2 separate regions of the Homo sapiens genome follow, and region 1 is linked to region 2. Evidence: promoter capture Hi-C in human tissues and cell types (Jung and others, 2019). All regions are on one chromosome and are shown on one strand. Each heading gives the region's core, a stretch centred on a gene start or on the middle of the fragment in contact. The rest is flanking DNA. Distances are from core to core; before and after follow the strand shown. Region 1 overlaps CORIN (corin, serine peptidase). Region 2 holds the start of CORIN (corin, serine peptidase).

Region 1 (6,019 bases), core at 1,557-4,056, 100 kb before region 2:
AAAAAATATTACAACCAAGAATTCTAAAAAAGATTATCTGACAAGTAGAGGATCTCAGATGAGTGTACTTCGGAAATTTCTGTTCTATTTAAACATACATTTTTAAATATAAATGTTTCATCAATCTTTCTAAGATTTTTTCCAAGATCATCAATCTCTTCCAAGATTAGAATATTTGCAATATCCTCTGATATTAGAGAGCCAATGTTTTAAGTGGCATTTTAGTTTGTTATTAAAAAATACTAATAATGGGCTGGGCATGGTGGCTCATGCCTGTAATCCCAGCACTTTGGAAGGCCGAGGCGGGCGGATCACGAGGTCAGGAGATCAAGACCACCCTGGCTAACACGGTGAAACCACGTCTCTACTAAAAATACAAAAAATTAGCCGGAAGTGGTGGTGGGCACCTGTAGTCCCAGCTACTCCGGAGGCTGAGACATTCTCCTGAGAATGACGTGAACCCGGGAGGCGAAGCTTGCAGTGAGCAGAGATCGCGTCACTGCACTCCAGCCTGGGCGACAGAGACTCCAGCCTGGGCGACAGAGACTCCATCTTAAAAAAAAAAAAAAAAAAAAAAAGAGGATACTAATAATGTTATTTTGATTTTCAAGAACTGATATGTTTTGAGCAACAGTGTTACATAACACTGATGATTTTTTTATTTTCAAGTTTTCTCTATGAATTCTTAAATCCCGTATCAATGGGTTACATTTTCCAAATTACCACTAATGAAGACTGTAAGCATTCTTATAAAACAGGAGAAAATGTAGTTAAAACAGAAAAGACTTAAAGGACTTCTCTTTCAGTTTTACTCACTCAGCCTTCTAGTGGCTTTTAGCTATATACTATCTTTTGGAGGGAATCCTAATTTAGCAGCAGACCTCTACTAAACAACGTGTGAAAAAGAAAACAAACTTCCATTTCTGGCCATGAGGTAGTAACTTGCAGCAGATCAATGCCCCTGTCAAGTACAACTAGAAAAGCCAGATAAAACACAAGAAACATCTGTTGGAAGGCATCTGAGAGCTGATGAGATAATTAAGATGTGAGTGGCCAAGGTCCCAGAGAGAAGATAACTATAGAACAAAGAGTCTACATTCTTTTTTAAAGTTTTATTTTAAGTTCAAAAGTACATATGCAAGTTTGTTATATAGGTAAACTTGTGTCATGGGGGTTTGTTGTACAGATCACTCACTTATTAAGCCTAGTACCCATTAATTATTTTTCCTGATCCTTTTTCTCCTCCTACCCTCCACCTTCTGGTAGACCCCAGTATCAGTCGTTCCCCTCTATGTGTCTATGTATTCTTATCATTTAGCTAAGTGAGAACATGCCCTAAGAGTCTACAATCTGTGTATGCCTTGTCCTTCATGGAACTTGCCAGTTCTTGGCATGGTGCTACACATGTGACCACTGCAAAGACAAGATAAGCCAGCAGAACTTTTGGCAATTCCACAAAGGCGAAGAGACAAAAATTAGAGTTTGGTGTTGCTGAAGCAGCCAGATACTAAGGGGCCAGGTGAGCAGTGAAAGGGGAGACATAGAGAAGCAGATCTATCACTTGGGAGGGTTGCCTTGCAAGGCATTTGCCACAGAGGGCAGGAGCCTAAAGAACTAAGCAGAAAACTTCAGAAAAGTAGAATGGAAATTACAGAAATTATACTGCTCTGAGCAGAAAATAAAATAAAATTTGGAACTACTCAAGGAGGAAGGGAATATAGTAAGCCTACCAGTTTCTCAGTTGAGACTACTGGAGAACCACACTCTCAGAATGGAGAAAAACCAGAGGTAGACGGAGCCTTATAACAATGAGGCAAAATCAGCTTAGTCTCTGATTAAATTAAGGCTATCTGGCCCCATATGTGCCTAGTGATCATATATGTGGCACATACGTGTGATCATATATGTGTCTGGCCCATATCACATATACGATCTGGCCATATATGTCTACCCTTCAAGAATCTATTGCTACATTTGCTGGCCCACTGCCTTTAGCTGTCAGATCCTTCGGGTTTTGCCTCAGCTGTGGAACACTGAAGAGATCTGCCTCACTCAGTGGCACACTCTTCCCAGGAAGGACCACATCCAATGACTGATTGAGGTGGAGACACATAGACTCAACTATTTTGGATCAACATGAGATAACTCTTGTAGGCTTAATACATTCCAGAACTCCCCAAGGATTTAGCTGAGGCTTTGGTGGGCCTGGATCATATTTCAACTCCTTCTGCCCAATTCTGCTTTCTCTCCCTCCCTTAACACAAAGGCTGAAGCTTAATAAATACTCTGTACACCAAACTCCATCTCAGTTACTATTTGCAGAAAACTCAACTTTTAGCACCTAGTGTCAGACATGGTCTAAGAAAGCAGGTGATAAGATATGGTTATTGATCTAGATAACCTCACAACTACATCAGCTGTGAAAACTAGCAGCCAAGCAGCCACTAGAAGGGGCAAAACATGCTTGGAGCTCTCCACAATGCCCCATTACCAAAGAATTGTCATTATTTTTCTTGTCTGTTAGCTCCCTGGAAACTCAGAGCAAATGTGATTATTTGACCTGAATAAGAGCTTACTCAGTGCAAAAGCCTTTTCCCCGGGGTGTTTCTAAAAAAAAAAATTAATAATCGATTAACACTGTAACTGTCTGAGGTGGGGATATCACTTGGGGCAAACAAGAAGCTAACCAGAAAAATTAAAAGAAAAATGTGGGGAATTCCTGTAGGAAAATTTGAAAAGCTCTAATACATTGCTGAGAATCTAGAAGATCCCATGAATGTGCAGGACTATGCATATACCTAAGAAGGACCCAGAAAGGCCCAAATATCTCACCTGTGGCAGACATTGAGACCCTGTACAAGCAGAAATTTAAGGATAAGGCAGAGCTGTAAACTCTGCTATAGTATTGACTGCTATAGCATTGACTCTGCTATAGTGTCGACTCTGCTACAGTACTGACTATGCACCCTAACATGCACAGAATCCCTTGGCAAAGACTAGGATATATACCTGTTAAAGGCATTTAAGGAAATTCTGTCCAACCATTAGTTGACCACTAGGCTGCTATCTGGGCAAAAACTTCAGTGGCCAGACATGACAAAGAACAAACTTAACATAATTTGTTTCAGGGAACTCACTGAACAAATAAATAACAATAATTAAAGCAACAAGAAACAGAAACAGCAACTAATGTTGGGGGGAAGAATTCAACTTGCAGAGTTGAACATTATATTATTTTAAATGTCCAACTTTCAACAAAAAATTACAAGATGTCCAAAGAGACTGGAACATATGCCCATATAGAGGGGGAAAAAACAGTCAACAAAAACTGTTCCTGAGGAAGCTCAGACATTGAATTTACTGGACAGACTTTTAAATCAGTTATTTTAACTCATTCAAAGAACTAAGGAACACATTTCTAGAGAACTAAAGGGAAGTATAAGAGCAATGGCTCAAAAAATACAAAATATTAATAAAGATATATAGATTATTTTAAAATATTAGAAATTATGCAGTAAAATATATAATAACTGAAATTAAAAATTTACTAGAAAGACTTAACAGCAGACTTGATCAGGCAGAAGAGAAAATCCGCAAACTTTAAGATAAGTAAGCTGAGATTATCTAGTCTAAGGAACAGAAAGAAAAAAAAGAAGAAAAATTAAAAGGTCCTTAATGACTTGGAGGATGTACCAACATACTCATAATGGGAGTCCCAGAAAGAGATAAAAGAATGAGTCAGAAAGAATGTTTGAAGATATAATAGCTGAAAACTTCTCAAATTTGGAGAAAAACATACATCTGCATAACAAAGAAGTACAAAAATTCAAATAAACTCTAAAGGATCTACACTTAGACACATTGTAATTAATCTATCAAAAATCAGACACAGAAAATTTTGAAAACACTGGGAGATAAGCAACTCATCAGATAAAATGGAGCTTCAGAAAGGTTAACATCTGACTTCTCATCCAAACTGAGGAGTCCAAAAGGAAGTGGGATAACATATTCAAAGTGCTGAAAATAAAAGACTGTCAAACAGAAATTCTATGTACAGCAAAATATCCTTTCAAAATGAAAGACAAATTATGATATTCCCAGATAAACAAAAGTGGAGAGAATTTGCTATTAACAGAACCACCCTGTAAGAAGTACTAAAGGAAGTCCTTTGGGATAAAATAAAAGGACAGTATACAGCAACTTGAATCCATATGAAGAAATAAAAGGTATTGGTAGAGGTAATTAAATAGGTAAAAGTAAGATAAAAGAAATGTATTTTTTCTATAAATCTTTTATTATCCTATCTGATTCTTAAAAACAACTGCATAAATAATTTATAATCATAATCAATAAACCTATGTTGAGATTATATTATATAAAGATGTAATTTGTATACATAATGGTACAAAGAAGGAAAAAGAAACAAAGCTATACAGAAGCAAAGTGTAGATATTGTTGAAATTCGGTTAGGATTCATCTGAACTAGACTGTTATAACTTAAGACGTTAATTTTAAGTTCCAGCACAACCAATAAGAATAACTAAAAAAAATAGCCAAGCAACAAGAAATTTAAAATGGCACACCCCAATATATCTAACACAAAAAAAGTCAGTAATGAAGGATCAAGAAATACAAAAGTCATAGAGAAAACAAATTTCAAAACAGCATATGCAAATACTTATAATTACATTAAGTGTAAATGAATTAAACACTACAATCAAAAGGCAGAGATTTGTCTCATAGATAAAAATATGAGATTCAATTATATACTGTGTGTAAAAGGCATACTTTATATTCAGAAACACAAATAGGTTGTAAGCTCAAAAATGGAAATTTTTAGGTGCCTATGTGTTTACACATATTTTCTATTGCTGGGTGGAGTGTACTACAGATGTCTATTAGATCTCATTGGTTTATCGTGCTTTGTAAGTCTTGTATTTCCCTTTTAATCTTCTACCTAGTTCTACTCATTATTGACAGTGGAATATTATGGTTGAATTGTCTATTTTTCCTTCAGTTCTGTCAGATTTAAGTATTTCTGGCTCTGTGTTATGTTTTCCTGACGAATTGACCCTTTATCATTAAAAAATCCCTCCTCTTTTCTGATAACAATTTTGTTTTAAAATCTATTTGATCAAATATTAGTATAGCCATTCCAGCTCTTTTAGCAAAGATTGAATGGTATATTTACATATGTAATCTTTATCAAAATTATAGCTGAATTTTTTTCAGAAATTGACAAGTTAATCCTAAAATTTATACAGAAAGGCAAGGGACCCAGGATAGCTAAAGTAATCCTTAAAAAGTTAAAGTATGCACACTTCATAATTTCAAAATGTATTGCAAACTGTGGTAATCAAGAAAGATAGATAGATCAATAAAAAATAATTGAAAGTCCAGAAATAAACCCATACATCTATGGCCAATTGTTTTTTAACAAGGGGCTCCAAGTCCATTCAGTGGGAAAGAATAGCTCTTCAACAATACATACTAGGACAACTGAATTTCCATACGCAAATGAAAGAAGTTGGACTCCTACTTCACAACATACAGAAAAGTTAATTTAAAATGGATCAATGACTTAAATATAAGAGCTAAATCTATTAAAATCTTAAAAGAAAACAAAGGAATAAATAATTAGTCACCTTGTATTAGCCAATTTTTAAAATACATACACTAGAAGCATACACAACAAAAGAAAAGACAGATAAACTGGACTTCCTCAAAGTTAAAAACTGTTGTTAAAATGAAAACAGCCCCCGAAGAATGTAGGAAGATATTTGAAGATTATATAGCTTAAAAGGCACACTTGCATCCAGAATATATAAAGAACCTGACAATTCAACAATTTAAAGAGGCAACCTAATTTTAAAATGGGCAAAGTATTTGAATAGATATTTCTCAATATAAGGCATACAAATGGCTAACACTAACAAGCACATGACATGTTGCTCAACATAATTAGTCATTAGCAAACTGCAAATCAAAACCACAATGGGATACCACTTCACATCAACTA
Region 2 (5,803 bases), core at 2,978-5,477:
TCAAAACCACAAAGAGATTTCAGCCCTTTGCCACTGTTAATGTGATCAAAAAACAAAAGATAACAAGTGTTGGATGCCAAGAAAATGCATCTCTTGTATATGGTTCATGGGAATGTAAATTGGTGCAACCATTATGGGAAAGAGTATGGAAGTTCCTCAAAAAAATTAAAAATAGAACTATCATATGATCCAGCATATGATACCAGCATACAGTATAGAACTAACATATGATCCCATTTCTAGATATGTAACCAAAGAATTTAAAATTGGGATCTTGAAAAGACATCTGCATTCCCATGTGCATTGCAGCATTATTCACAATAGCAAAAACATAGGAGCAGCCTAATGTCCACTGATAGATGAATGGATAAAGAAAAATGGGGTATATATAAACAGTATGTATATATACATACAGTACAATATTACTCAGCCTTAACAAAGAAACAAATCCTACCATTTCTGACAGCAGAGATGAACCTAGAGGACACTATGCTAAGTGAAATAAGCCAGACACAGAAGGACAAATACTACATGATCCCACTTAATTGAGGAATCTTAAAACAGTCAAACTCATAGAAGCAGAGAGTGGAATGGTGGTTTCCCAGAGGAGGAGGAAATGGGGAGGTATTGGACCAAGGGTATAAAGTTTCAGTAATGCAAGATAAATAAGTCCTAGAAATCTACTACACAGCATGGCTTCTGTAGTTAAGAATACTATATTCTATACTTAAAAATTTGCTAGGTGGGTAGATCTTATGTTAAGTGTCCTTATAACAAAATAATAATAACAATAATAAAGATGGCAGAAGGGAACTTTTGAAGATGATGGATAGGTTTGTGACATTAATTGTGGTGACGGTTTTATAGATGTATACTTGTTTCCAAACCTATCACATTGTTTACATTAAATATATACAGGTTTTTGCTCGCCAATACTTCAATAAAGTAGTTTTTTAAAAAAAGGTTAGGGAACCTTCACCAGAATATACCACTATTACATAAAGTACTTCTAGTACGTATTCCACAGTCTGCAGTGTCCTTACCAGTGGTCAGTAGTACCATCTACATTTTCTGACCAAGGAAACTGAGGCCCAGCAAGATTATTTGACTTGCCCAGAGCCTTGCGGTTCTTAAGGGGCAGAGTCAGAGGTCTGACACCAAAGCTCCTACTCTTCCCACCAAGGCAGGTCATCTACAGCACCTTCTACTCTTAAGGGGTCTGCCATTTCCACCCTCTCTGAACAGACATAAAACAAACAAGTGTATTATGTCTGTGTGTGTCTTTATGTGAGTGTGTAGACTCTGAGGAACAGGTAAGTCTTGGAATCCCTTGAGTGTTTAGTGTGAACCTAGTATGTTTAGCCAGCCAGTATCAGGTCAGTACCCTTTAGCCAGCCAGCCTCATTTTCCATTTGGTCCAGCAAAATGGAATGCCAAGAATAGTGATGGGGCTAACAGGATGCATGAATCCATACTTGTTGAATAACTTATTAGGTAGAAGTAGCAGGTCAAACAAACCTTTCCCCCTCAGATACGCTCAGCAACAATTCAGTGTTGCGGCTCTCCTGCTCCTCAGAGAGCTCTTATTACCCCAGCAGTGGGGACACTCAGAAACCCTAAGACCACAAGTCTTTGTGTTGAAAGAGGCTACAAGTGCGGAAAAGAGGAAAAATAAGGAAAGGAGTACCTCATTAACAGTATGGAGATTTGAAAGTACAGGCTTTTGAAAGTGACTCTCTGAAGCTCCTGGGCCACTCAGCTTCTCCTCTAACTTCCTGTCTGCCCCCAACAGTGGGGGAGGTCAACAGAGGGGCTGGCCAGTCAATAGAACTAGCAACTGCTGAAATCCACATGAAGCTATGGTGGAGAATGTGACCCTTCCAAAAGGAAACCACAGCTGGTTGTGGAATGCAAGATGCGGAAGCACTGATGCCTGCCTTCTATGCTGTTGCTATTGTGATTTCTGCAGCATTATGAGGAAGGTTTCTGATGGAATGAATTTTGCATCTTTTAAGAAAGTGTCTCTGTACCTGGATATGTGCTTGATAAGGTTAATAGAGCAATTCTTGGTGTGTCTTTTTAACCCACAGGAAGGTTAACAGAGGCTTTCATCGTTGGTCCTGTAAGCCTACCCTGAAAGGAACTTTCTGGAAAGAGTCCCCTCCCCCTTAAAAAATGCCTTATAGAATCTTGGGGTTTTGAGGTTGATGTGTTTCCACACCCAAATAACCCCAAAATAGTTCATCCTATTGAAATTCTTGGTGTCCTGGAAAGCATTCTATGGAAAACCTGCCTGGTCAGCCAAGCCCACACGTGAGTCTATGCAGACATCTCCTCTAACCTCGCAAGCCCCAGGAACCTCCTCTAACCTCTCAAGTCCCAGGATCTGAGGACCAATTTTTAGCACAATCTCACACAACAAACCTATTGGGCACCTAATAATAGAAACAAGCTAATGAATGTTTTGACTGTGACAAAAAAAAATGGTTTAATAACTTTTTATAAATGCATTGTTTCTTCTCATTGTCTCAGGGTTATGCCAAAATTAATTTCAAAACTATCTGCTTAAATGTGTCCTTGGACAATAATCACCAGTAAGTCCTGACTTCACCCCCTTTCTGGTAGCGGTCTGACGTTCCTTTGCAGAGTTTCGCTTCCATCGATAAGTTACTTTAAATAAAAAGTTAAAATAAAAACTAGAAGCCACAATTGTGCCTATGTCAGTCATCGAAGTCTTGTACAGGAGTCCGTCTTCGCAGCGCATCGTTCTCAGAAGTTTCCCGCGGGAGGAAAGCTCCACTTTATGAATTACTCGAACAGCTTCCCTGGGAATGCCCAGCCCCGAAGCTTCCCTGCTGAATTCAAAGTCAGAGCTCCCAGGGCTCGGTCCCAGGAACCGGGAGCCGTGCAAAAAGCGCGTACACTGCCATCCACTGGCCCCGAGCAGGTAGTAGCAGGAGTGAGGCGCCTGCCACGGGAGCTCAGGAACTGGGTCCCAGTAAGATCCGACAAGACACCACCTCCCTTCCGCCCGCACAGCCTGCCCTCTCTGCCTGCAGCTAGCGTCACCGGTCGGTCCCCGATTCGGAGCAGCTGGGACCCTCGCGGTAGCAAGCGGATTCCGGGGCCCTAATGACACCGAAGGAGAGGGGCAGCCGCAAATTAGACCTTCTTCCTGGGGGCTCAGGCCAGTAGGGACTGTCCGTGGTGCCCTTCCCTTTCTTTCTCCTCCTGAACGAGAGCCAACGCTGCCCCTTCCCAGGACTGGATCTGAGCCAACCAAATCCTACAGCGCAGAGCCTGCGCCCCCGGCGGCCAGCCCTCCTGTGCCTAGGCAGGTTCACGCCGGAGAAAGTTTGCACGCAGGGACCTACAAGTTCCCAGCACTCTGCAAGAGGGCCAGTTCTGGGATGCCAGCACTTAGGACGGGCGAGTGATCCCCAGGCACCAACTGGGGGCCGGGGAACCAAGCGCGAGCCCGGGCTGTGGAGGGACCGACACCCAGGCGCTCGCAGCTGGGGAAGGGGGCTTACGTCTGGGGCAGGCAAGACTGCTGCACAGTCCCTCCAGCCACCCGGCGCCCGAGACGCCGGCGCAGACAGGAAGCTGTAGATCCCCGAGGGGCTGGCTCCGACAGCTCCACCTGCAGCCTCCCCTGCCGCCAGTGTGCAGCCAAGTCCACTAGATGCTTGGAGGGCACCGTGCGGAGGAGGGACTCTGCAGGAAAGGTGGCATCACCCCCGGCATGGAGACCGGGGTCTCCGGATCGAGCCGACTCGAACACTGAAGGAAACCCTGCCCATGACCCTGGGAGGGTCTCGGACGCCGGGCGACCGGGGTGGTGGTCGGGACCAGGGCCGTGCGCCTGGGAACTGGGTGCAGGGCGCTGAGCGCGGAACTGTCAGAGCGGGAGCTCACCGGCGGCTGGGGAAGGAGGTGGCATCGGGCGGAGGAGAGGACGGGGGCGGGAGGGGCTGACCCTGAATTCACCGGGACTAAGAGGCCATCACACCTGGCTGCGGTAGGACAGCGAATCATCGATCTTACCGGCTTTGGGGACCCGGCTCTGCGGCAGCGCTCTTCCGGAGCGAGGGCAGGAGACTGTTTCATGGATAAAAAGTCTCGCTTATTCTTCTGTCCACTTTTATCTTGGTCGCTTTTCTCTCCTCTACGTGTCCCCCGGGGAGGCACTACGGATGATTTTCTCCAAGCTCAAGAGAGACAAACTGAACTTTAAGCGCCAGGGGCCCCATATTTTGTCTGCTCTACAGATCCCACCCGCGGGCCACACCCTCCCTTCACTCCCGTCTCTGGGTCCCACCCATAATAACCCGTAATGACAGATCCTCCGTGTCCCCACCTCTTTGCATTCAAAGAAGTTATTCTTCAGGGGCATATGGAAAGTCAGTTTCTGCTGGTCTCCCTCAAAAACTTACACTCCACGAGGGCAGCAGAAAAGGACAGGACGATTAAGTTTAAGTTGTGGAAGACTGGTTGGGAGCAAAAGAGTTACTTTTCTCCAAATTTGCCATATCACATCGAAAGCATTTTCTTTTAACCAGAGTGTAGCCAATCAAAATTAACTGCAGGCGCTGGCAATTAAAGAACAAGTTTATCTCAAAAAAGGTTTAACGTTTGGAGGCCATTATTTGCATCAGGCATATGGAAACTTGCGTTCTGTTAGGTATGCTGAAGAAACTGCTTTTGCCAGACTGCCTGAGTCTTTGCTGAGGCTGCAGGGACAAGGGAGAACCCCACCCTGACTGCTTCCAAAACCCTAGTTCCTGATTTCCTGCAGAGGGCACCTACAGGCTGAACCTAAAAGGCGAACAAATTCCTGCCTGTCATTCAAAAGCAGCTACCTTTTCTAAGGCAGCGTCAAGGAGGGCACTGGAGGTACTCAACACAGTAATGATTACTTTACCAAGTCCAAGGCAATTGTCAAATGTGGCAAAGAAAAACACTTCATTGGGTTTTTCTTAGAAATGATTTTTCATCCAATTTCAATCAAGATCTTAATGGAAATTTTGAAAATTACTCATGAGGTTATTTAATAAATCCATCCCCATTATTTAAAGAAAGCCATGTAAAGACAACAAAATATGGGCCAAGCACTTGTTCTTGAACATTATTGCTGAGAAAAAAATATGCATTTGTAAAATGGGGGGGGCAGTATTTTGTTTCTGAAGTGAGATCAAATGTAGAAAATATTGCATATGTATAGTAAAATGACTGAAACACTGATTCCATGTTATTCTAACATCCGATTTGTAAACCAGTATCTGACAAATTTATCATAATTCACAATAATTCAGTTCATATTATGTGGCAGGTGTCATACTAAGCACTTTACATGTATTCTTTCAGTTCCACCAACTACTCTGAGGAAGAAGCTATTATTTTTATTTTAGAGATAAGAAAGCAGATTCAGGGAGCTGAAGTGAAGTAACCAGCCTACGCAAGCTAGCAAGAAGCTGAGCTGGGATTCCCCCGAGGCAGTGACTTCTGGATTGTGTTCTTACTAAGATACTACCTCATCACACACCATCACCGCAGTGCCAGTCTGGGAATCAAGAACTGTGAGCAAATCACATAGTCTTTCTGGGCCACAGTTAACTCAGCCTATAACATAAGGGCTGGATTCAATTGCTAAGGTTTCTACAGGCATTCTGAGGCCAAGTACAAGTTTCTATTTCATCTTCTTTCTCTTCCACTTTCTGCCCTCTGGTGGAGGTGCTACAGGGACTATGAAATTAAAGTAGCTACGTCAGTGGATTTGAGATAGGGTCGATCAGTCTCCCTC

Evidence for each region. Contacts are between HindIII fragments. The study calls those that stand out against the background at their distance.
Region 1: a contact is called between a fragment that was not itself captured here and the fragment with the promoter of CORIN in region 2, in 3 of the 25 tissues and cell types used here (H1 embryonic stem cells, mesendoderm cells and pancreas).

Annotation. Positions count from the first base shown.
Region 1 is chr4:47,735,388-47,741,406 of GRCh38, forward strand. All of the region lies in intron 5 of CORIN (corin, serine peptidase), which reads right to left. Among named protein-coding and RNA genes, the nearest start is that of MIR8053, 86 kb to the left of the region's middle. The HindIII fragment of the contact is 8,496 bases long and covers 1-6,019 here.
Region 2 is chr4:47,833,840-47,839,642 of GRCh38, forward strand. CORIN (corin, serine peptidase) reads right to left here and starts at 4,228. Exons shown (of 22, transcript NM_006587.4): 1 at 4,048-4,228. The coding sequence starts at 4,110. All of the region lies in intron 1 of LOC101927179 (a long non-coding RNA gene), which reads left to right. The HindIII fragment of the contact is 9,769 bases long and covers 1,293-5,803 here.